Linked DNA regions of Homo sapiens: all the other regions are linked to region 1. Evidence: promoter capture Hi-C in 16 types of primary human blood cells and fetal thymus (Javierre and others, 2016). All regions are on one chromosome and are shown on one strand. Each heading gives the region's core, a stretch centred on a gene start or on the middle of the fragment in contact. The rest is flanking DNA. Distances are from core to core; before and after follow the strand shown. Region 1 holds the start of RGS10 (regulator of G protein signaling 10). Region 2 overlaps EIF3A (eukaryotic translation initiation factor 3 subunit A). Region 3 overlaps EIF3A (eukaryotic translation initiation factor 3 subunit A). Region 4 has its middle 9.4 kb from the start of EIF3A. Region 5 overlaps DENND10 (DENN domain containing 10). Region 6 overlaps SFXN4 (sideroflexin 4). Region 7 holds the start of PRDX3 (peroxiredoxin 3).

Region 1 (3,497 bases), core at 735-3,234:
CCAAAAGCAATCTAAAGTAATAAGTAACGCGTACAGGGCTATTCATAGCAGCTCTATTTATAACAGGCAAAAGGGAGAAAAGCTACTAATTATTACACTTTTATTATGTGCCACACATTGTACTAGGGGCTTCATATGGTTTTGAGTATTTAATCCCATAACCCTATGAAACCCACTTTGCAGGTGGAGAAAGGTGCTGGAACATCAGCTCTCCTGAGTCAAAATGAAGCCTTCATTTTTAGCTTTGTTGATTTTCATGATGTAAATATCCCATCATAACTACTTTCAAGCTACCTATGGTTTACAACCAGTTTCCAAACTTTTTGAATATTTGGCAACTGGCTCTTGCAAGCCAGTTTGAGCCAGCTCCAGCACATCACTGAAACGGAGGCACAGAGAGATCAAGTAATTTGCCCAGTGTTGCTGAATGACAGAGTCAAGGTTAGAACCAAGAGTTTAATTCGAGTCCAGGCTCTGAGCAGCGCTCCACAGGCCTGTGCCAACCATAGAGACTGGTTAACATTAACACCCACAAGGGAATTCTTTGACTCACATGCAACACAAAAAGGTTTACATGACCACTAACGCTAACGGAGCACTTAGTACTTGCCGGGCAACAATGTAAGATCATTACAACAACCCTATGAAATCCTACATATTAAATACAATAATTTGCAAAACCTGATGGATGGAAGACAGGTTCCAATTAAGTACTTTAAAAGGCGAGTAGCTACTGTTATTCCCACTGTGCAGAACCTCATTCTGCAGAAAGGTCCCACGGCTGGTGAATATGGCGAAGGTGAGATTCGGATCCAGCCAGTCTGGTCCCAGTCTCTAAACCACAATGTCCCTCATAAAATACCAGGAGCAGAAAGGAAATGCACCAACGCGTTGGGACTCTGAGCGCCAAGCAGAAGTGAATCTTGGCGTGGGAAGCCCGGCAAAGCCCCCGAACTTCAGAGTCAGGGGAACCTGGGTTTGAAAGCCTCCCCATCACCTGCGGAGTGTGACTGGGGCAAGTTACCTAACAGCGCCTGGCTTCCGCTCCCTCCTCACTCACCGGGTTGTCCTAGGGGTGAAGGGAGAGTTCACCCAACGCGGTGGACAAAGCCCTTGGCGCACCCAAAGGCCTGCACAGGTCGTAGCTATTGTGATGAGCAAAAGGGTGGAAGGACCGGAATCAAGGGCACGGCTCCACCTTCACCGTGGGGTCTTTGGCCTATCAAGTTGCCCGAGATCGTGGCTCAGGCTGGCCCAAAGTGACGGCCAAGGCGAATCCTTCGTAACGTCAGAACTTCGCTGGCTCGGACCGCAGAAGTGCCCTTCTCCATCCTGGGGTTCCGCCACCCTCGCGATCCCACCTTTTGGCTCCTCGCGGCAGAAGCGAAGGCCCCCGACGCCCCAGGCCCAGGGGCCCAGTCGGATGCCCGGGTCCAGCCGTGCTCCCCCGGGCGCTCGGCATCCTTCCACCCACGCCCGCAGCGGAGGCGGAGAGCGTCACGGAGGGAGAAGCCCGCGCGCCGTTCCGCTTTCGGAATCTGGAGCCCCATGTCACCTCCAAAGTTTGGAGATTTGGGGCGCTCCTTTTTCTCCCAGACCATCACTAAAAAGAAAACTGCGGCTGTTCCTCTTTCAGCCAAACTTCCTCCCCGGGGCTCCCGGAGGAGCTCTGCGCTCCCGTCGCGGCTGGGACCGCGAAGGTGCGGTACCCAGCGGGGAGAGGTGGTGCGGTCGGCCGGGGCTCCAGTCTGGGAGGTACCACCGAGCCGCGCCCGAGCACAAGAGGGAGGGCAGGAGGCCGGGCGGGCGAAACGGCGCCCCGACCCCGAGCCCGCGGGCCCCCGAAGCCGCTTACCTGACGGCGGCCGCTTCCTGCTCAGCCGGCTCACGGCGCGGTTGAACATCGCCGCGGGCGCCCGAGGAGGAAGAAGGAGCAGCCCGGCGGCGCGGCGGCTGAGCCGGAGGAAGGCGAGGAGGAGGAGGAGGGCGAGGAGGAGGAGGAGGAGGGCAAGGAGGAGGAGCGGGCTCAGCACCGCCCCGGAGCTCTAGGTCCCCGCCCGCCGCCCTCCTCCTAGCCAGGCGCCGCGTGGCGCGCTCAGTGCGCCCTGCCCGCCCCCGCTGGTGAGGACTCGCGGTTCCGCTCCGGGGTGCCCGGGCGGGGCAGGGCAGGGCAGCCCCGGGTGACCCCCGATCGCCCAGAGTGTGCCCCGCGCCTGGGATAAGGTGCACTGGCCCAGAGGGAGCCCGCGCCGCCGGGAACTTAGTAGCCCCGCGGAGGCGGTTAGCGCGTCCCGGGGTCCCTGGCCCTCGCCTGAGATGCCGCCCCGGCCCGCCCCGCCCAGCTTCAAGCTCCCGGGCCCATCGCGGTCTCCCGCCTTCTCCCTGTAGCCCCGGAGAAACTGGCACGGCGCCGCGGGCGCACCGCGCTTCGGGGCTCTCAGCGAGCCTTCGCAGGTGGCGGGCGGGGTCCCCTCCCGGGTCACAGGCTGGGAAGCCTAGGCCTCGCGGTTCTGCAGAGTCCGGGCGCGGCCCAGCCTGTGGCCTTTGCCTCCTCGTCACCAGGATCCCCGCCTGCTGGGGCCTGGCTGCTCCTCGACTTCGTGGGCGCTGCGCCTTCCCGCCCCGCGAATGCGGGTGGGGCGTCCCCAGGGCCCGTGCGCTGAGCTAGCCGAGCCGCCGCGGGTGGGCGCCCTCTCCCCGGCCGTGCCGCGCGGGCGCCAGGACTCGGGGAGATCTGAGAGGATTCTGCAGGAACCCCCCGGTTCCTGCGCCGGGCGGTGCTCTGTCCCGCACACCGCGCTCTCGGGACACTTCTCTAACTTTGGGGACACGTGGGCACTGCCTCTGGCAGGGCCTTCAGGCTCCACGACCGGGACCACTCAAGCCCCCACGGCGTCACCTGCTGGGCGCTGCGCGCTCTACGGTCTCCTATTATTTCATTTCTTCTATGGAGCAGCCCCAGAGGGGATGTCATTAGCCCCCATTTTCTTGAACATTTGGTTTGCAAGAAATTGTCTTTCTGGCGAGTTTTATTTTTCTCCTTGTGTATCTGGCTTTGTCTCTAAATTGGTCTTTATTTTTAGCTGTACTAATTGCTATTTTTCCAAACCGTTCCCCAGTCGCCCTCCCCCCATCCCCCCGTCCTTTTGCAGTTTTTTTCACTACTTGGCACTTTCTTTTGTATCTTCTATTCTGAGCTTCCAGTTCTGCTCACTTTCCCTCTCCCTCTACCCACCCCACAGCCCCAGTTGCACCCCAAGTGTGGCCGGTGGTTGCTTGTTGTTTCCCTCCCCGCTATTCCCCCTCCAAAAGTCGTTTTCCTCCGAGCATTTCCAAGCACTCTCCCCCTTCTGCTGCCAAAAGAGGATTTCCAGGCTCCTGAAGCGAACGCGGTGACCAAGAACAGGGTTAGACCCAGCGCGGGGAGTTCTGCTTTTAAAACTGCTGTTGTTGGCCTACTCCGGGCCCAGACAAACTTCCATCTCATTGTAATGGGA
Region 2 (3,497 bases), core at 332-2,831, 500 kb before region 1:
GCTGAGATCATACCACTGCACTCCAGCCTGGGAGACAGAGCAAGACTCCACCTCAAAAAGAAAAAAAATGGTAATAGACGCATGTCACAAACATGTATACAACTGCTCACGAATAATAAAGTGTGAAACAATAAGCAGGCCCAGGACTAAGAAAAAAAATGAGGCTGGGCGCAGCGCCTCACACCCGTTATCCCAGCACTTCACTTTGGGAGGGAGAGGCAGAAGGATAACTTGGGCCCAGGAGTTTGAGACCAGCCTGGGCAACATAGCGAAACCCCGTCTCTCCAAAAAATAAAATATTAGCAGGGTGTGGTGGCATGCGCCTGTAGTCCTAGCTACTCAGAAGGCTGAAGTGGGAGGCTCCCTAGGGTCCGGGAGGTCAAGGTTGCAGTGAGCCATGACTGCACCACTGCATTCCAGCCTGTGCAACAGAGCAAGACCCTGTCTCAAAAAAAGTAAAGTAAAATGAGTTCCTCCTTGCATAATCTCTCAGTTGGCAAAAATAAATATATAAAGTACATTTTGGTTTCAATTATTTATTTTTAAAAGGAGGCTGGTTCCCAGTAAAACCTGAAAAATACACCAATACTGAAAGCATGAGTACAGGAAGAGCCTTCAAAGAAGCAGTCATCGAAGCAGAAGGAAAACAAAGAGCACATCACTAAAGAAGAGAGGGGTTGGGTTATTTATGTTTTGGATGGTGGTATTCTGAAGGCAAACTTTTGACAGCGAAGTCACTGCAAATGATACTGAAGGAAAGATGAAAGACCAGTTTATCTGGAAAATAACAATACAGCCCTGATATTTATCCATCAGAATTTCACTTTTACAGGTGAACACTTAAGCATATTCTAGGAAATAGAATTTTACCTGGCTTGACTAATGGTCTCCAAGGACCAGGTCTTGAGTCATCACCCCGTCTGGGAAACCGATCATCATCAGCACGTCTTGAAAGGCGATCATCATCCATGTTTCTCCAAGGGCCCCTGTCATCCTCTGCACCACGCCTGGGAATTCTGTCATCATCGGCGTTCCTCCAAGGTCCTCGATCATCATCCAACCCTCGCCTGGGACCCCGGTCATCATCCATGCCTCGCCTGGGACCCCGGTCATCATCCATGCCTCGCCTGGGACCCCGGTCATCATCCATGCCTCGCCTGGGACCCCGATCATCATCCAACCCTCGCCTGGGACCCCGGTCATCATCAGCATTACGCCAGGATGATCGCTCATCATCAGCGCCTCCTCGCCTCGGCCCCCGGTCATCATCCATCCCACGTCTTGGTCCTCTGTCCTCATCAGCTGTTCGCCAGCTTCCTCTGTCCTCATCCAGTCCTCGTCTAGGTGGTCTGTCATCATCCGCATGACGCCAGTTTCCCCTGTCTTCATCGGCAATTCGTCTGGGAGGCCTGTCATCATCTGTGTTACGCCAGGAAGGCCGGTCATCGTCTGCCCCACGACGAGAGAACCTATCTTCCTCAGGACCACGTCTAGGGCCTCTGTCATCATCCATGCCACGCCGGGGAACCCGATCATCGTCTGGTCTAAGAGAGGGCTCTCTATCTTCATCATCCCCCAGACGCCGGGGCCGCTCTTCATCTCTTCTATGAGACCTGTCCTCATCTCGCCCTTCTCCACGTCTCCACTCCCTACACAGCAACAAGAACAATTAAAAATATATAAAATAAAAAAGCATATGATCCTTTGGGGATTTTTTTTTTCACATGCTTTTTAAAAACTTCAGTATGGGCCGGAGCAGTGGCTCGCACCTTTAATCCCAGCACTCTGGGAAGCAGAGGCAGGCAGATCACCTGAGGTCAGGAGTTCAAGACCAGCCTGGCCTGGCAAAACCCATCTCTACTTAATTGTAAGACATGCGGCTGGGCACAGTCGCTCACACCTGTAATCCCAGCACTTTGGAAGGCCAAGGCGGGAGGATTGCTTGAGCCCAGGAGTTTGAGACTAGCCTGGGCAACATGTCAAAACCCCATCACTATAAAGAATATAAAAATTCACCAGGCGTAGTGGCCCACACCTGTAATCCCAGCACTTTGGGAGGCCGAGGCAGGCAGATTTCTTGAGGTCAGGAGTTCAAGACCAGCCTGGCCAACATAGTGAAACCTCGGGTCTACTAAAAATGCAAAAATTAGCCAGGCGTGGTGGTGCATGTCTGTAATCCTACTTGGGAGGATTACAAGTGCCTCCCAGCTACTTGGGAGGCACAAGAATTGCTTCAACCCAGGAGGCGGAGGCTGCAGTGAGCCGAGAACGCGCCACTGCACTCCAGCCTGGGTGACAGAGCTAGATTCTGTCTCAAAAACAAAGAAACAAACAAACAAAATTAACCAGGCATGGTGGAGCGCACCTGTGGTCCCAGCTACTCAGGAGGCTGAGGCAGGAGGATCACCTAAGCCCAGGGAGGTTGAGGCTGTAGTGAGCCGAGATCGCGCCACTGCACTCCAGAGTGAGACGCCATCTCAAAACAACAACAACAACAACAAAAACAACAACACAGGCCAAGTGCAGTGGCTCATGCCTGTCATCCCAGCAATTTGAGAGGCTGAGACAGTCAGATCGCTTGAGGTCAAGAGGTCAAAGCCAGCTTGGGCAACATGGCAAAACCCCATCTCTACTAAAAATACAAAAAGTAGCCAGGTGTGGTGGCACACACCTGTAATCCCAGCTATTCGAGAGGCTGAGGCACTTGAACCCAGGAGGCAGAGGTTGCAGGGAGCCGAGATAGCGCCACTGCACCCCAGCCTGGGCAGCAGACCCAAAAAAACAAAATACAAACCCACACGCAATCAGACATGCACACAATTCTTCATGGCTCTCCTTTCCCTGCCTCTACAAAATGAACCAAATTTTAAAACCACTGATAAGATATTAACAGGAACTGGAGCGGCATTATTTTCCTCAACTCTACTTACTTCTCTGGCGGGCCTCTTCTCCACTCAGAATCTGCTTCAGGTCCTTTTCTCCAGGTGCCTTCTGAATCTCTATCTCCCCAACGAGAGTCCTCCATTGACAAAGTGAAAAAGAAGCATTACATTGGTAACCATTTACTATTACAACTACTGGTATTACCATTCAAATATTTTTTGTACTTATAACAATATGAAGCCCTTAAATAAGCAAGTTTTAAAATTTCATTTATTTTTTAATCTGAGATCAGACTGACGCTACAGGGAAACTGGTAGTCTCATATATTGTAGGTGGCCTTACAAACCGATATAACACTGTGCTGGAAAGCAACCTGGGAACATACACCTCTACAGATTTCCTTCAACCTAGAAATCCCCTTTGAAGAATGTGAAAAAAGCCACATGCCCTGAAATGGACATCACAGTGCCTACGAAGCAAAGAAAGGTGGAGACATTTTATTTAATGTCTAATGGGGGTGGTTAAATTAACAGTACTTCTCTATTCAAAGTACTCTGATGGGCCGGGCGCGGTGGCTCACGCCTGTAATCCCAGCAGTTTGGAAGGCCGAGGCA
Region 3 (3,497 bases), core at 409-2,908, 480 kb before region 1:
AACTATAATGCCATCCATATCCAGAAGTCGAGCAATATCCGTACGCTCAGGAGTAATAGGGATGGAAAGAGTGGCTAAAAGGACTCTAGTAGACATTCTATGGAGAACAAAGTTTTAAATCTGTTAGGTTTGTAAATGATACTTGGTAAGCAGAAAAGCACTTCTCTTTAATCTTACGGTAAGGCGTGCTAGTGACAGAACGTGTACATCACCATGGTGCACTATACTCATAAATATTATTCCATCAAAGCATGGGAGTAAGAGAAATGGGCTGTGTTTAAACGAATACTTGGAGAATCAGGACTTCATCTATCCACTCAGTACTGTCAGTGTTTTCTAGCTTCAGAAAAAGATTGTGATTGACCAGGCGCGGTGGCTCACGCCTGTAATCCCAGCACTTTGGGAGGCCAAGGGGGGCACATCACGACGTCAAGAGATCGAGACCATCCTGGCTAACACGGTGAAACCCCATCTCTACTAAAAATACAAAAAATTAGCCAGGCGTAGTGGTGGGCGCCTGTAGTCCCAGCTACTCAGGAGGCTGAGGCAGGAGAATCGCATGAACCCGGGAGGCGGAGCTTGCAGTGAGCCAAGATCGCGCCACTGCACTCCAGCCTGGGCGACAGAGCCAGACTCTGTCTCAAAAAAGAAAAAAAAAGAAAGAAAAAGATTGTGATTAAATGACAGAAAACACACATTCATATACCCCAGACTTCCTTACAAAATTAAGGCAGGTTTAAAAACTAAGGAAATGGCTAGGCGCAGTGGCTCACGCCTGTAATCCCAGCACTTTGGGAGGCCGAAGCAGACGGATCACCTGAGGTCACGAGTTCCAGACCAGCCTGGACAACATGGTGAAACCCCATCTCTACTAAAAATGCAAAAATTAGCCAGACATGGTGACAGGCGCCTGTAATCCCAGCTACTCAGGAAGCTGAGGCAGGAGAATCAGTTGAACCCAGGAGGCGGAGGGTGCAGTGAGCCAAGATTATGCCACTGGACTCCAGCCTGGGGGGCAGAGTTAAGACTGTCAAAAAAAAAAAAAAAAAAAAAAAAAAAAAAAAAACCTAAGGAAGTAAGTGGCAATAAGGCAGAAAAAAATTTTAAGAATCAGAAGTGAACACTATTATGGTAGTGAGGGAGAGGGGGAGACAAGAACCAGGAGCTAAATTTTCACATCCCTGAAAGACAAGAAGTCAGGCTGCATTCAGAGCATGGCAGGACCCCAAAGACTGCGAGCCCTGGAGCTGAAGGGCTAGCATCTCCCCTTCGCCATTTCCAAGACTGTGACCGTAGGCAAGATACTTAATTTTCTGAGTCATAAGGCTACTGCAAAGATTAAACCAAATAATGTACTAAGAGCTAGACAGCCTAATGCTCACTATTATTGTAGTACTCTCTGAAGGCAAGCTTATGTGTCTGGAAGAACATGTTTTTCCTTAAAACAAACAGATGTGGACCAGGCGCAGTGGCTCATGCCTGTAATCCCAACACTTTGGGAGGCCGAGGCAGGTGGATCACCTGAGGTCAGGAGTTCAAGACCAGCCTGGCTAACATGGTGAAACCCCGTTTCTACTAAAAATACAAAAAAAATTAGCCAGGCGTGGTGGCGCACGCCTGTAATCCCAGCTACTTGGGAGGCTGAGGCAGGAGAAGCGCTCGAACCCGGGAGGCAGAGGTTGCAGCGAGCCAAGACTGCGCCATTGCACTCCAGCTTGGGCAACAAGAGCAAAATTCTGTCTCAAAAAAAAAAAAAGGATGTGAATTACATAAGTGACAGTGGATGCCATAACGGACACCATCCTCAAGAGTTTCTAAGAAAATATGCTAGTGGCCAAGCACAGTGGCTCATGCCTATAAATCCCAACACACTCGGAGCCTGAGGCAGGTAGATCACTTGAGACCAGAAGCTTTGAGACCAGCCTGGGCAACATAACGAGACCCTGCCTCCACAAAAAAAATTAAACATTAGCTGGACGTGGTCGCGCTCGCCTGTAGTCTCTGCTACTCAGAAGGCTGAGGTGGAAGAATAGTCTGAGCCCAGGAGTTCAAGGATGCATGCAGTGAGCTACAACACACTACTACACTCCATCTGGAGCAAGGAAGCAAGACCCTATGAGAAAGGAAAGAAAGACCGTATCAGAAAGCAAAGACATAGAGAACAAAGAAGAGAAAGAAAGAAAATATACTAGTGGGACTCATTTAATTGGTCCCATGAATTGCTCTAAAATAGTTTTACATAAGAAAGACAATTTGCTTTACATAATTCTACTGGATAACAAAATAATTGGTGGACCAATACAAGAAAACAGGTGGTATGTGTGTTGCCTAAGTCCAATAGCATTTTTTTTTTTTGAGATGGAGTCTTGCTCTATCGTCCAGGCTGGAGTGCAGTGGCACAATCTCAGCTCACCACAAGCTACGCCTCCCAGGTTCAAGCCATTCTCCGGCCTCAGCCTCCCGAGTAGCTGGGATTACAGGCGTGCACCACCACACCCAGCTGATTTTTGTATTTTTAGTAGAGACGGGGTTTTGCCATGTTGGCCAGGCTGGTCTTGAACTCCTAACCCTAAGTGATCCACCCACCTTGGCCTCCCGAAACTGCTGGGATTACAGACATGAGTCACTGCGCCAGGCCAGAAATGTATTTTTTTTTTAAGTGACAGAAAACAGGTTATACGTAACGTTAAAAATAATAAAATGGAAGACTATGCCTTCGGGGCTCATTTCTATAGTTTGTTGCTAGAGAAGTTTCTCTGAACGTGTGGAGCACAGGGAAAAAATTGGTCTATAGGTTGTTGGGTTATAGACCCTTCCTTTTATATTCATATGTATTTATATGAGAATAAACATGACCCAAATATTCTACACTTAATATTTTGCAATCAGGAAAAAATGACTTGATAGAAGTATTTACCCTGCCAGGCGTGGTGGCTCACACCTGTAATCCCAGCACTTTGGGAGGCCGAACCAGGAGGATCATCTGAGGACAGGAGTTCGAGGACAGCCTGGCCAACATCATGAAACCCCATCTCTACCAAAAATACAAAAAATTAGCCAGGCATGGTGGTGCACACCTGTAATCCCAGCTACTCAGGAAGCTGAGGCAGGAGAATTGTTTGAACCCAGGAGGCGGAGTGAGATCGCATCATTGCACTCCAGCCTGGGCGATAAGAGCGAAGGCTCTGTCTCAAGAAAAAATAAAATAAAATAAAATACAAGTCAGGCGCGGTGGCTCACTCCTGTAATCCCAGCACTTTGGGAGGCAGAGGCAGGTGGATCATGAGGTGAGGAGTGGAGACCAGCCTGGCCAATATGGTAAAACTCTGTCTCTACTAAAAATGCAAAAATTAGCCGGGCATGGTGGTGGGTGCCTGTAATCCCAGCTACTCCAGAGACTGAGCCAGGAGAATCGCTTGAACCCAGCAGGCAGAGGATGCAGTGAGCCAATATCGTGCCACTGCACTCCAGCCTGGGCAACAAAAGACTCTGTCTTG
Region 4 (3,497 bases), core at 260-2,759, 450 kb before region 1:
CGGCCAACATGGCAAAACCTTGTCTCTACTAAAAATACAAAAATTAGCCGAGCGTGGTGGTGTATGCCTGTAATCCCAGCCACTTGGGAGGCTGAGGCAGGAGAATCGCTTGAACCCAGGAGGCAGAGGTTGCAGTGAGCCAAGATTACGCCACTGCCCTCCAACCTGGGCAACAGAGCAAGACTTCATCTCAATAAAGAAATCATCTCAGCTGGGCGCGGTGGCTCACACCTGTAATCCCAGCACTTTGGGAGGCAGAGGCGAGCAGATCACGAGGTCAGGAGTTCGAGACCAGCCTGACCAACATGGAAACCCCGTCTCTACTAAAAATACAAAAATTAGCTGGGCATGGTGGCACGCACCTGTAATCCCAGCTACTCAGGAGGCTGAGGCAGGAGAATCACTTGAACCTAGGAGGCAGAAGTTGCAGTGAGTCGAGATCGAGCCACTGCACTCCAGCCTGGGCAACAGAGCAAGACCCTGTCTCAAAAAAAAAAAAGAAAAGAAAGAAATCATCTCAGGCCGGGCGCGGTGGCTCACGCCTGTAATCCCAGCACTTTGGGAGGCCAAGGCAGGTGGATCATGAGGTCAGGAGATCGAGACAATCCTGGCTAACACGGTGAAACCCCGTCTCTACTAAAAATACAAAAAATTAGCCAGGCGCTGTGGCGGGCGCCTGTAGTCCCAGCTACTCGGGAGGCTGAGGCAGGAGAATGGCATGAGCCCGGGAGGTGGAGCTTGCCGTGAGCTGAGATAGCGCCACTGCACTCCGGCCTGGGCGAAAGAGCAAGACTCCATCTCAAAAAAAAAAAACAAAAACAAAAACAAAAAACAAAGAAATCATCTCTAGGCTTATAAGTTACAAAATTGTATCACCCGCCCTAGACCTCTCTCCTGAAAGCCCGACCTCTCACATTCAGATGCCTGTTTGGCAAATCTATTAAATGTTCAATGTACTACACACATTCAACCTGCCAAACACCTGGTCTCCTCTACCTCCAATCTTCTCCTGTCATCTTTCCCATGTTAATAATGGCAACCTGGTTCTTCCAGTTGCTCAGATCAAAAAATGTTGGAAACATCCTTGAATCCTCTTTTTTTGTTACCTCCCCACATCCAATCAACCCATCAACGAATCCTATATCTACCACCTCCATGGCTACCACCTGGTCCAAGTCACCACCATTTCTCAACTGGAGTATTGAATAACCTGCTAACTTGTCTGTGAGTTTCCACCTTTGGAAACCTTCACTTTACTCTCCTAATAGTGAGCAGAGGAATCCTTTTAAAACAAAAGTGAAATTATCAGTCCCCTGATCAAGACCCTCTTGTGGTTCACCAACTCAGTGAAAGCTAACGTCCTTAAAATGGCCTGCAAAGCCCTACACAGTTCTTCTCCACTACCCCCAGTGTCACCTTTTCAGCCATGATAACCTTCCCTCACCTCATTAAAGTCATAATAACATCCCTTGCACCCATACTTCCTAGCACCCTTCTCTTCTTCTCTTCTTGATTTTCCTTCTCCTGTTTTTTTTTTTTTTTTTTTTTTTTGAGACAGTCTCACTCTGTTGCCCAGGCTAGAGTGCAGTGGCACTACAACCTCTGCTTCCTGGGTTCAAGTGATTCTTGTGCCTCAGCCTCCCACGTAGCTGGGGTTACAGATGCCCACCAACACGCCCGGCTAATTTTTATATTTTTAGTAGAGTCAGGGTTTCACCATGTTGGCCAGGCTGGTCTCAAACTCCTGACCTCAGGTGATCCACCCATCTCTGCCTCTCAAAGTGCTGGGATTACAGGCGTGAGTCACTGCTCCCAGCCTTTCCTTCTCTACTTGATCAGGTTTATCACCATCTGATCCCCATATATTTTATGAATTTATTTCTTTATTATCCACCCCTTTAGAATAAAACGAGCTTGATGAGGGCAAGGATTTTGTGTCTGTTTCATTTACTGCTGTATGTCTAGTACCTATAACAGTGCCTGGCACATAGTAAGCACTCGGTAAATTTCTGTTGAATAAATAAACTGATTAAAGGAGGCTTCCTGTATTATGATTGCCTCTCTCCATGTTGGTCTCCTGTATGCCACTGGGAGTCCTTTGAAGGTCGTCACTAGGACAGTTCATTTTTGCATGTAGATTGTGCCTGGCACACAGTCAACACCAGAAAGTGGTTGTTCATTTTATGTTTCAGAGCACCTTGGTGGTTCCGACGGTGTGGTAACAAGGTCTGAAACCTTACAGCCGTGCATTCTTAATCATGAAAGTGTCCAACCGGGGTTGGAAATTTTCAACGATGGTCCATGAAGTGCAGATGTGAGGTGCACTGTGCCTGAGCCAGACGGTTCTCATTGGACCTTTTGGGTTCTGCAAATTCAAAGCAGGAAAATTGGAATGCAGCTTCAGTTAAGTGTATATTTAGTAAAAACATGTCCTGGCAGTATTTGTTACTTATTGGGAGAAATGCATCTTACATTTGGCTGTCTTCAGCCTTTAAGTTTCTGCCAGACTCCAGGAGAAGGCTGAAGGGAAGGAGAGGAGCATGTTTGTGGGATCAATGCATATACTCACACATGCCATTATTGACATGCCATGAAGTGCAGCTCCTGCTTGGGGATTTAGGAGGTAATGTCCAAAGCCACACAGACCAACCAGGCCCAATAAAGCAGAGTGAGTAATACACTGTGCATGGTGGTTTTGGGTGTGGTTTGAAAACAAGCATCACTGTTAAATACGTTAAATACGATTAGAAGGAAACCTAAAACCACAGGGTGTGGACTTTTATGTTGGGGGTGTGTATATTAGATAATCTTCACATGGACCTTTTCATTGTATCAGCTTCTCACGGAGCAGCTTGAATGGCACCTCCTCAGAGAGCCTTCTCATGGTCATTTGCTCTAAGTCTGTTTTAGCCGAGCACCGTGGCATAAACCTGTAATCCCAACAATTTGGGAGGCTGAGACAGGAGGCTCACTTGAGCCCAAGAGCTCAAGACCAGCCTGGGGAAAATAGGGAGACCTTCTCTCTACAAAAAATAAAAAAATAGCTAGGTGTGGTGGTGCACCTGTGGTCCCAGCTACTCAGGAGGCTGAAGTAGGAGGATCACTTGAGCCTGGGAGATCGAGGCTGCAGTGAGCCATGATCATACCTCTCTACTCCAGCCTGGGTGATGGAATGAGACCCTGCCTCCAAAAAACAAAACAAATAAAAAAAAAATAAAGACTGTCTTTTTTTTTTTTTTTTTTTTGAGACGGAGTCTTGCTCTGTTGCCCAGGCTGGAGTGCAGTGGCACCATCTCGGCTCACTGCAACCTCCACCTCCTGGGTTCAAGCGATTCTGCTGCCTCAGCCTCCTGAGTAGCTGGGATTACAGGTGCCCACCACCATGCCCAGCTAATTGGTTGTTTTTTTGTTTGTTTGTTTGTTTGTTTTGAGACGGAGTCTTGCTCTGTCACCCAGGCTGGAGTGCAGTGGTGAGATCTTGGCTCACTGCAACCTCT
Region 5 (3,497 bases), core at 392-2,891, 430 kb before region 1:
TATGTTGCCCAGGCTGGTCTTGAACTCCTGGGGTCAAGTGATCCTCTGCCTTGGCTTTTCAAAGCGCTGAGATTACAAACGTGAGCCACTGCACCTAGCCCTTTAAAAAAAAAAATGTTGTTACTAGATAGAATTATAATTCTAGGTGTCATGTTACCGTCAGGCTTTTCCCTAATACAGAGATTTTTGGGGGCACTGAGGGTGAAGGGAATTGTTTTTGTTTTATAAGCCTAATAAATGGTAGGCTTTTGGCTATTTTTGTGCGTGAATGTATATACACACACCAAAAGAAGCAAAAAAAAAAAAAGAGAAAAACTCTATCATAAGACTATCTTCTCATTACCTAAGGGTTTCAGTTAGATTATATCTTGGCTAAATGAGATTTCACCATTTTTGCAACCAGCCAGAATAAAAAAGCTTCCTACTCTCATAAGAACCAGGTGAATGTCTCACTGTGGATAAACAGTTGTCTGCTAATGTGGCACTTACACAAAGGGAGATTATTATTGCCAGAAAAGACGCTATCCAGAAGCCATAAACTAAAAACACTACAGAGGTATTTTTGAACAAACATTGGACTCCCATTTCATTTGGTTGAGTCAGGGTTATGTTGCTCAACTGAATTCACTGGGAAATATTCTGGAGTCCAAAAGGCAAGGTTGCTTCAGACCCCACTTCCTGCCCAGAAGGAGGCCCAGAGGGTTTCTCAGCTTGTGCAGTGCGTGGCATTGTAGTATCCTGGATTTCTTCTCCCGTCACAGTGCAAGAGAAGTGAGGACTCGGAGCTACTGCCAGCCGCCTCCTCTGCTTCCTGCCCCTTCATGCAGCACTATGCTCACTCTTGCATGTATGCACATCCAAGTATTTGCACACACACACACACACACACACACAGGTCTGTGTGTACATGCACACACTCATAGGCAAAGACTTCTTTTCTTCATGACAGTTTAACATGGAGTTGCCTCCCTCCATTTCTGGTGAGGAGCAGGCAGGCGTGCCTTCCACACACAGCTTGCTGCTCACAGTGGCAGCAGAAGCCCGCAGGAGGGAACCTCATTCCCTATGTGGCTGCAGGTTCACTGCTGTGGTCCTCTTCAGCCTCTAGTCGCTTGCTGCTAGTGGCCCTGCTAGAGAACCGGGGTTTCATGCACACTTGCAGTCAGCTGTACAGGCCTCGATGTGTGGCAGCCTATGGATGTCTATCTGAACAAGGTGCTTGGGGTCGCACTGTGGGCTTTTCCTGTGGAGTGGTTTTGGGGGGATTTCCCCCTCTGTTTTATCTCTCCTGGCCCAGGGTTGTCATGTAGGAAGTCATCTTATCCTACCAACCTTATGTTTCTCTTCTCTATTACTGTGTATTGTTTCTATTTTATAATTTTTTTTTTTTTGAGATAGAGTTTCACTCTGTCACCCAGGCTGGAATGCAGTGGCGCCACCTCGGCTCACTACCACCTCCAACTCATGGGTTTAAGTGATTCTTGTGCTGCAGCCTCCCAAGTAGTGGGAATTACAGGTGCACACCACCACACCTGGCTAATTTTTATATTTTTAGTAGAGACGGGGTTTCACCATGTTCACCAGGCTTGTCTGGAACTCCTGGCCTAAAGTGAGCCTCTTGCCTCGGCCTCCTAGAGTGTAGAGATTATAAGCATGAGCCACAGTGCTTGGCCTCTATTTTAGAAAGCTAATGGCATTTTGGTTTTTTGTTGTTGGTAGTAATAAAGCACATTTAGAAACACAGGAGAATATGCAGTGAAAACTGAGCTGCCGCCTCCTCCTGTTCCCAGACTCCAGTTCTACCTCCTGATCCCCACCCCACACAACTCCCGTGACCTCCTTCTTTATATCCTATCAGAGAAGTTTTTCTCCCTGTGTGAGCCTGTGTGTGAGTTCCTGGGTTTGAATGTATTTTACATGTGTGAAAGCTCACCACATTCATTGTTCTCTACTTTTTTTCCGTCAAGTTGTGAATTGAATTGGTAATTTTTTTTTTTTTTTTTTTTTTTGAGACGGAGTCTCGCTCTGTCGCCCAGGCTGGAGTGCAGTGGCGGGATCTCGGCTCACTGCAAGCTCCGCCTCCCGGGTTCACGCCATTCTCCTGCCTCAGCCTCCCAAGTAGCTGGGACGACAGGCGCCCGCCACTACGCCCGGCTAATTTTTTTTGTATTTTTAGTAGAGACGGGGTTTCACCGTTTTAGCCGGGATGGTCTCGATCTCCTGACCTCGTGATCCGCCCGCCTCGGCCTCCCAAAGTGCTGGAATTGGTAATTTTTAAAAAAACACTGATGATTGACAAAAGTTGGCAAGCAGTTAAAACACTTGCTTTTTTCATTTAGTCTATGATAAATATAATTTTCAAGTGATCTTTTTTTTTTTTTTTTTGAGACGGAATCTCGCTCTGTTGCCCAGGCTGGAGTGCAGTGGTGTGATCTTGACTCACTGCAACCTCCTCTTCCTGGGTTCAAGCAATTCTTCTGCCTCAGCCTCCCAAGTAGCTGGGATTACAGGTGTGAGCCACCAGGCCCAGCTAATTTTTATATTTTTAGTAGAGACAGCGTTTCACCGTGTTGCCCGGGCTGGTCTCTAACTCCTGGCCTCAAGTGATCCGCCCACCTTGGCCTCCCAAAGTGCCGTGATTACAGGCATGAGTCACTGTGCCCGGCCCTCAAGTGATCTGTCTTAAATATGTTTTATTTTCTTCCCGATTTTCTATCCCACCAGCTCCTGAAAGGCCCAAATAGACCCAGTCATGTTTCTCAAGCAAAATTTAATTTTAGTTGCTCACAGGAAGAGATTTCAAGGGGAAGAGACGGATTCCACATGTGAGCTATAAATGCAGCCAGTTTCCTGTCAGCATTTTCTAGAAGCTTTAACTTGACGATGAATGTCTAATGTGCATTTATCACCAGAAACCTAAAGGAGTTTTGATTTCTTAATTATCTAAATATAGCTACCTCTGGGAACTCATTTAATAATAAGTATGGGTTCTACAACTAATTACTGGTTTCTCTGTGAACAGTGCGTAAAACTCCTTTCTCGTCAAAGGAAATCTCAGTGATAAAACAGAGTTGTATGACTGAGAACCCCAGTTGTGAATGTAAGACACAGGATAAGTGCACAACATTCTTGAGAATCCTGGGACCTCAGGAAGTTCGTACTTCATTCTCCTGCCTTAGTACAACAAGGGGCTCCCAGATGTAAGGAGATGGCTGAGTCCAAAGAATTGTTGAAGGTCTCTCAAGCTTTTTCTTTTCTTTCTTTCTTTCTTTTTTTTTTTTTTTTTTTTTGAGACAGAATCTTGCTCTGTTGACCAGGCTGGAATGCAGTGGTGCAATCTCGGCTCATTGTAACCTCTGCCTCCCTGGTTCAAGCGACAATCCTGCCTCAGCCTCCTGAGTAGCTGGGATTACAGGCATGTACTGCCACACCTGGCTAATTTTTTTTTTTTTTTGGTATTTTTAGTAGAGGTGAGGTTTTGCCATGTTGGCCAGGCT
Region 6 (3,403 bases), core at 87-2,586, 380 kb before region 1:
TCAGCACTTTGGTAGGCTGAGGCTGGAGGATGGGTTGAGGCCAGGAGTTCGAGACCAGCCTCTATTTTGTAGAGGTAGCGAGACCCCCACCTCCATAAAAAATTTAAAGCCAGGTGTGGCGGCATGACCCTGTAGTCCCAGCTACTCAGGAGGCTGAGGTAGAAGGATCAGCTGAGCCTGGGAGTTGGAGGCTGCTTTGAGCTATTATGGTGCTACTGTACTCCAGCCTGGGTAACAGAGCGAGACCCTGTCTCTAAAAATGACAATAATAATAAAGTATGTACATAAAATTACTATAACATGGCCAGGCACAGTGGCTCACGCCTGTAATTCCAGCACTTTGGGAGGCCAAGTGGGCGGATCAGAAGGTCAGGAGTTCGAGACCAGCCTGGCCAACATAGTGAAACCCTGTCTCTACTAAAAATACACAAAGGAAAAAAATTAGCTGGGCATGGTGGCAGGCACCTGTAATCCCAGCTACTCAGGAGGCTGAGGCAGGAGAAATCACTTGAACCTGGGAGGCGGAGGTTGTAGTGAGCCGAGATTGTGCCACTGAACTCCAGCCTAGGTGACAGAGCAAGACACTGTTTCAAAAAAAAAAAAAAAGAAAGAAATCCTGCTGGGGGAGAAATAATTAAAGCAAGGCAGGCAGAGTTTTCTTTTCTTTTTTTTTTTTTTTTTGGACACGGAGTTTCACTCTTGTTGCCCAGGCTGGAGCGCAATGGCATGATCTCAGCTCACTGCAACCTCCGGCTCCCGGGTTCAAGTTCAAGCAATTCTCCTGCCTCAGCCTCCTGAGTAACTGGGACTACAGGCACGTGCCACCACAATGCCCAACTAATTTTTTACATTTTTAGTAGAGACGGGGTTTCACCATGTTGGCCAGGCTGGTCTCGAACTCCTGACCCCAGGTGATCCGGCAGGCAGAGTTTTCTAAGTGTTAGAAACTACATCTTCCCAACCCACTTCTGAAAATTAGAACCAACTCACCTGCAGGTCGAAAAAGCTTGGGGATCAGGTTGCTGCTGTCGGGATGCACTGTTGCCTTCAAAAGGAGAGATGCAAGGTTAGCTGGATGTCTGGTTTTGTTATTATAGGACACTAAAAATTAGGAAGGGGCTGAAACTTACAAGACTCCGCTTCCAAGCTTCTTGTATCTTAAAGGAGAAAAAAGAATAGCTTTGTTTCATTTTAAATTTTTTTTAAGAGACAAGGTCTTGCTCTGTCACCCAGGGCTGGGGTATAGTGGCACAATCATCACTCACTGCAGAACAGCCTCGAACTACTGGGTTCAAACGATCCTCCCACCTCACCCTCCTGAATAGCTGAAACTACAGGCTCACGCCACCATTCCCAACTAGTTGTTTAATTTTTAGTAGAGATGGGGTCTTGCTATACGGCCCAGGCTGGTCTTGCAGTCTTGGCATCAAGTCATCCTCCCAAACCATTGGAATTACAGGGTTAAGCCATCACACCCAGCCTTAAAAAAACAACAACAACAACAAAAAAAAACAAAAAAAAAAAAAAAGCTTTTAAAGGTGGCTCAACAGCAAAGAATTTCTTTGCCTGTCTCATTTCTGGGACCACATTTGTTCTACCTTTCAGAGAGTGAAGGCCAGAGCTGTTATTTACCACATTGACAGAACAAATCAAAATAAATGGATCATATGAATAAACAAATGAACTAATGACAAGCAAAGAGACGAGCCACACAGAGAAATGGACCAGAACATTAAAAAGTCCTGTCTCTACCCTTGGAGAATACCAACACCTAACTTATCCCTCAGATGAGTCCCCGAATCCGGCTTGCCTCTGGCTCAGAGCAGAGCAGGCTGTGTGCTGATGACACACCATGCCATCAGTCAAGTTACTTGCAACAGAGCCAAGCTGTCAGCCCAGGGTCCCCAGCACATTCTTAGAAAAAGTTAAATATGTGAGCTCTCCATAGGCTGTCTTGAGGAGCTGGTGTTTGTGAGCTCCAGAAAGCCCCACATACTGCAAGGTAGATAAGGAACAGTCCGTTTGAGCCTATCGGCAGGAACGCTGCCTGCAGTGGAGAATGAATTCTGACGTCAGAGCCCTGTCTGAATTCTGGGGTTTGCCACTGGGCTCCAGGAATCAGCTGCAGGGAATCCCCACAAATATCCACTGTGTAGGAGGAAACTTGCTGTCTGGTTTATGGGACAGAATTCTAACTACATTTAAAAAACTAACCCAGTTTTGCAAAGCTGGTCCTCTGGGCAGTATATAACAATGACAGCATTAATAGCCAATAGAACAGTGGCTCCCAAGGGAAGGAAAAAAGAAAGAAAAGAGACGGAGACAGAGATTAATGGCCAAATTCCACCTGACTTCAGACCATGCAGGCAGAACCATCTGAGGGCAACCAGCCAGACCTGAGCACGTGAAACATACCCTTTGGTCCGCCGAGGCAGGGCTGGAAACATCTTCATTTGTGCACAATAGTTGCCTCGAGTTTTCTATACTTTCCTAAAATCAGATATCAAGTAATCAAGTAATGATCTCAACATTGTTCAGGTTTATCCCCAGAGGTAGGAATCACCAGCTCACTCACCAGCATGCACTGGACTTCGACTGCATGCCTGATTTCAAGCCACATGGTGCCCTAGGCTCTCTATCCATTAGGATAGCCCTGAGTGCCATTCAGATTTATGCCTTCCTCTTCCTAGATGCTCCAGCAGCTGCCCCCAATGGTGCTGTCACCTCCCCCACTCTCTGATGTCAACTGTCGCACTGAATGGTTACCACCATCCCCTGGCTATACATGTCAGAAACCTAGAAGTCCTTCTCCCTCACCCACTTCCATGTCTTATCAGTTCAGTCTTATTTCCTCTCTTTTTCTTTCTTTCTTTTCTTATTGTTTTTTAAGAGACAGGGTCTCACTCTGTTGCCCAGGCTGGAGTGCAGTGGTGTGATCATAGCTCACTGCAGCCTTAAACTTCTGGGCTTAAGTGATCCTCTTGCCTCAGCCTCCCAAATAGTTGCGACTACAGGCACAACCCACTACACCTGGCTAACTTTCTATTTTTATTTGTACAGATAGGGTCTCGCTACATTGCCCAGGCTGGTCTCAAATTCTTATTCTCGAGAGATCCTCCCATCTCAGATTCTCAAAGTGCTGGGATTATAGACATGAGCCACCACAGCCAGCCTCCATTTCTTAATTTGAGAAAAAATAAATACAAAAATTACAAAGAATGGCTACACACTATAATCCCCTCACCCAGAATTAACAACTGTAAACATCTGGTTATATTTGCTTCTAATTTTATTACATTTTCTTTCTTCTTTTTTTTTTTTTAAAGATGGAGTTTCACTCTTGTCACCCAGGATGTGACCAGTTTAGCCAGTCTGTCCTCCATCACGTGGAAGATTTGTTTGA
Region 7 (3,497 bases), core at 488-2,987, 360 kb before region 1:
TCGTTCTTCCACATGCAGCAGGCCTGAGGGCTGCAGTGGCAGAAATGCCCCAAGGAATGGCACTCACATGTCGGGCAACCTGGAAAGAGAAACTTTTTATTAGAAAGTTTTCCTGGACTGGTGACTGAAGGCTGAAAGGGCATCGTGCCAACGGTGGTTTCAGCTGTCCCTGTTCCTGTGAACCAAATAGCAAACCCCAAACTCTAAGAGCATGGATTGGATCTGCATGTTCTTAACACTCCCTTCTGCTTCCTTCTCCTAGGAGACTGGAAGGTGGAGAGGAACTATAAGAACACAAAGACCGGCTGGGCGCGGTTGCTCACACCTGTAATCCCAGCACTTTGGGAGGCCAAGACGGGTTGATCACCAGGTCAGGAGTTCGAGACCAGCCTGGCCAAGATGGTGAAACTCCATCTCTACTAAAAACACAAAACTTAGCCAGGCGGCGGTGGCGGGCACCTGTAATTCCAGCTGCTTGGGAGGCTGAGGCAGGAGAATTGCTTGAACCCGGGAGGCAGAGGTTGCAGAGCCGAGATCGCGCCATTGCACTCTAACCTGGGCGACAACTCCGTCTCAAAAAAAAAAAAAAAAAAAATCAGAAACTCCATGCGCTTAAAGCAACACAGGGTTCAGAAGCCAGGGGACTTGTGCAGGCTTTTCCCAGCACTATCTGCTGAGTATGTTCTACCATTTCAAGGTTTTCCTTAGAAAAACAAGGCCCCTCCAGCACCAGCGACAAGTAAACAAGAAGAGCCAAATTCAGCCTCTGGGAGTCTGTTAAAGGCTCAAGGGACATGTTTACTCAACTTTTTTTTTTTTTTTTTGAAACAGAGTCTCGCTCTTTTACCCAGGCTAGAGTGCAGTGGCGCGATCTCGGCTCGCTGCAGTCTCGACCTCCTGGGCTCAAGTGATCCTCCCACCTTAGCCTCCCCAGGAGCACTGACCACCATGCCCGGCTATTTTTTTTTTTAGAGACAAGGTCTCACTATTATTGTCCAGGCTGGTCTCAAACTCCTGGGCTCAAGTGATCTGCCCGCCTCGGCCTCCCAAAGTGCTAGGATTACAGGCGTGAGCCACCGCACTCTGCCGGTTTGCTCAACTTTAATGTTCAAAATGACTCAGGAGAACGAAAGGGGCTGTGTTGAACCCCACCAGAGAAAGCCGTGTACCAAAAGAGCACGACGCATTGCCCACAGTTAAGCAGGAAACAGCAGCAGAAACACGCGGGAGTGGGATTGGGAGGGAAAGCCTTTGTGAGTTTTTTAGCACTTTGCGCGTTTTTATCCAGTATTTAAGGGGCTGTTCACAGCAACGCCTTGATGTAGGCATCATTCTTTCCATCTTAAGTACACAGTCTGAGAAAGGCGAAGGCGCTTGCCCAAGATCACAGGGTCGGTGGCAGAATCAGGGCCAGGACCTTAAGTGGAGATGGGCCTGGGGACCGGGGACGCCGAAAGAGGAGGGACTCGGGGAAGAGACCGCGAGGATGGAGTGGGGAAGGGCGGTTCTGCGCAGGCGCATGGAACCTTCCCGGAGGGAGGCCTCTGGGTCCGTTACCCGCGGAAACCCTCCAAGAAGGGCGAATGGCCCTCATGCCCAGAAGCGCGGGGTCCTGTCTGAGAAGCACGTTCCCGGAGCCACCAGTGTCTCCACGCCTGTCCCCAGCCGACAGCCACTCACCGACGCTCGGAGCAACCGTCCTACAGCAGCCGCCATCTTCAGTGCACTCGGGCGCCACGGGGCGGGCAGAGACGCAGGGGCGGGGCCTACGGGGTGGTGAGCGGGCCCTCTGCTGGTGGGGGGGCGGGGCCGGAGGAGCCACCGCCTCCCCGCCTCCTGGAGACCCTGAGGGAGAAATTCCCTTTAAGGCTGAATGCTTGGGCAAGTGACACGTGGTTTTCCTACTGTCGCCCCAACCTTAAAAGAACGAATCCAGGCGGGGCATTAGGTATTTGTTTCCATATTTCCCACTGTTTTGTTAACCTTGTGTGGATTACTGTGTCTAGTATTTCTGTGACAGGATCCCTTTCTTATTTCAGCCTCAGGTAGAGACTTCCGGCTTCTGTATGAAATGGAATTAATTACAAATGCAGTTTTAGTCCGTTAATAAGCTAAGTGGGCTAGACACATCAAGGCTTTGTTGGCCTGAAATCCGCTGGAATTGTGTGTGGTCTAACATTTGGCCTCTCTTCCCAAAATTGGGAAAACTGGGACAAATTTAAAATTTGGTTTTTGTCTATTAATGAAGCCAAGTGTTCAGTGGTGAGCATAGTACTTGAAGCAACCACATCAAACATAGATAAAAATCACACCGTGGCCTTACAGTAAGTGTGACAAATTGCAGTCTTGGAGCTGGTATTTTCTTTTCTCTTTTCTTTTCTTTTCTTTTTTTTTTTTTTTGAGACTGGGTCTTGCTCTGTCGCCCAGGCTGGAGTGCAGTGGCATGATCTTGGCTCACTGCAACCTCTGCCTCCCGGGTTCAAGCGATTCTCCTGCCTGAGCTTCATGAGTAATTGGGATTCCTGAGCAGCTGGGATTACAGCCGCCTGCCACCATGCCCAGTTAAGTTTTTGTATTTTAAGTAGAGATGGGGTTTCACCATGTTGGCCAGGCTGGTCTCAAACTCCTGACCTCAAGTGATCCGCCCACCTCGGCCTCCCAAAGTGCTGGGATGATAGGCATGAGCCACTGCACCCGGTCTGAGTTGGTATTTTCCAATCACTAGTCATTCAATTAGCAACTTCGTTTCTCAAGTCTTCTTATCACCAAATATCACTTACTATTTTCTTTAAATTGGCTTTCTTTTTTTTTTTTCCTTTTCTTTTTTGAGACAGAGTCTCACTCTGTCGTCCAGGCTAGAGTGCAGTGGCACAATCTCGGCTCACTGCAACCTCTACCTCCTTGGTTCGAGCGATTCTTCTGGCTCAGCCTCTCGAGTAGCTGGGATTACAGGCGTGCACCACTAAACCCGGCTAATTTTTTTAGTATTTTTAGTAGAGATGGGGTTTCACCATATTGGCTAGGCTGGTCTTGAACTCCTGACATCAGGTGATCCTCCCACCTTGGCCTCCCAAAGTGCTGGGATTACAGGCGTGAGCCACCACACCCAGCCCAGTATATTTTCTAAAATCATCTCAGGTACCACTAGGCGCCACCCTGGGTACCAGTCCCCAGATGTGGAAAGGACTGCCTTGGATGTGTGGGGACACACGTTTCGACTATTTCACCTCACACCTTCCTTGTGTTTGTTTAATTGGTTTTAATTATGTCTGTGTTTAGCAGATGATTGAAAAGGAGACAATCATTTTGGAGCTCAAAATCGTACTGTAGGCCGGGCGCAGTGGCTCACATCTGTAATCCCAGCACTTTGGGAAGCTGAGGTGAGTGGATCACCTGAGGTAAGGAGTTCAAGACCAGCCTGACCAACATGGTGAAACCCTTTCTCTACTAAAAATTGCAAAATTAGCTGGGCATGGTGGTGCATACCTGTAATCTCA

Evidence for each region. The method cuts DNA at HindIII sites, captures the fragments that hold promoters and counts their contacts. A CHiCAGO score of 5 or more calls a contact.
Region 2: a fragment that was not itself captured here is called in contact with the fragment with the promoter of RGS10 in region 1 in 3 of 17 cell types (naive CD4 T cells, naive CD8 T cells and non-activated CD4 T cells); the score reaches 7.2 in naive CD4 T cells.
Region 3: a contact is called between a fragment that was not itself captured here and the fragment with the promoter of RGS10 in region 1, in 1 of 17 cell types (activated CD4 T cells). The highest score is 5.8, in activated CD4 T cells.
Region 4: a fragment that was not itself captured here is called in contact with the fragment with the promoter of RGS10 in region 1 in 1 of 17 cell types (naive CD8 T cells); the score reaches 5.0 in naive CD8 T cells.
Region 5: a fragment that was not itself captured here is called in contact with the fragment with the promoter of RGS10 in region 1 in 12 of 17 cell types (naive CD8 T cells, non-activated CD4 T cells, naive CD4 T cells and 9 more); the score reaches 10.1 in naive CD8 T cells.
Region 6: a fragment that was not itself captured here is called in contact with the fragment with the promoter of RGS10 in region 1 in 11 of 17 cell types (activated CD4 T cells, non-activated CD4 T cells, total CD8 T cells and 8 more); the score reaches 9.9 in activated CD4 T cells.
Region 7: the fragment with the promoter of PRDX3 here is called in contact with the fragment with the promoter of RGS10 in region 1 in 11 of 17 cell types (non-activated CD4 T cells, endothelial precursors, fetal thymus and 8 more); the score reaches 11.9 in non-activated CD4 T cells.

What each region holds. Positions count from the first base shown.
Region 1 is chr10:119,540,735-119,544,231 of GRCh38, forward strand. It overlaps RGS10 (regulator of G protein signaling 10), which reads right to left and starts at 1,985. Exons shown (of 5, transcript NM_001005339.2): 1 at 1,856-1,985. The coding sequence starts at 1,904. RefSeq lists silencers at 1,438-1,607, 1,658-2,397, 2,408-2,477, 2,528-2,687 and enhancers at 2,898-2,977, 3,240-3,497. The HindIII fragment of the contact is 10,649 bases long and covers 1-3,497 here.
Region 2 is chr10:119,041,124-119,044,620 of GRCh38, forward strand. EIF3A (eukaryotic translation initiation factor 3 subunit A) reads right to left here. Exons shown (of 22, transcript NM_003750.4): 18 at 2,931-3,019; 19 at 871-1,649. Among named protein-coding and RNA genes, the nearest start is that of NANOS1, 13 kb to the left of the region's middle. The HindIII fragment of the contact is 5,604 bases long and covers 1-3,497 here.
Region 3 is chr10:119,065,474-119,068,970 of GRCh38, forward strand. It overlaps EIF3A (eukaryotic translation initiation factor 3 subunit A), which reads right to left. Exons shown (of 22, transcript NM_003750.4): 7 at 1-97. Among named protein-coding and RNA genes, the nearest start is that of SNORA19, 7.1 kb to the left of the region's middle. RefSeq lists an enhancer at 1,132-1,633. The HindIII fragment of the contact is 500 bases long and covers 1,409-1,908 here.
Region 4 is chr10:119,088,442-119,091,938 of GRCh38, forward strand. No RefSeq gene overlaps it. Among named protein-coding and RNA genes, the nearest start is that of EIF3A, 9.4 kb to the left of the region's middle. The HindIII fragment of the contact is 8,979 bases long and covers 1-3,497 here.
Region 5 is chr10:119,113,397-119,116,893 of GRCh38, forward strand. The region is part of intron 3 of DENND10 (DENN domain containing 10); the gene reads left to right. Among named protein-coding and RNA genes, the nearest start is that of DENND10, 11 kb to the left of the region's middle. The HindIII fragment of the contact is 2,453 bases long and covers 416-2,868 here.
Region 6 is chr10:119,159,925-119,163,327 of GRCh38, forward strand. It overlaps SFXN4 (sideroflexin 4), which reads right to left. Exons shown (of 14, transcript NM_213649.2): 3 at 2,416-2,490; 4 at 1,131-1,157; 5 at 991-1,045. Among named protein-coding and RNA genes, the nearest start is that of SFXN4, 4.1 kb to the right of the region's middle. The HindIII fragment of the contact is 382 bases long and covers 1,146-1,527 here.
Region 7 is chr10:119,177,075-119,180,571 of GRCh38, forward strand. It overlaps PRDX3 (peroxiredoxin 3), which reads right to left and starts at 1,738. Exons shown (of 7, transcript NM_006793.5): 1 at 1,681-1,738; 2 at 1-79. The coding sequence starts at 1,716. RefSeq lists enhancers at 617-1,261, 1,261-1,740 and a silencer at 1,771-1,880. The HindIII fragment of the contact is 12,445 bases long and covers 1-3,497 here.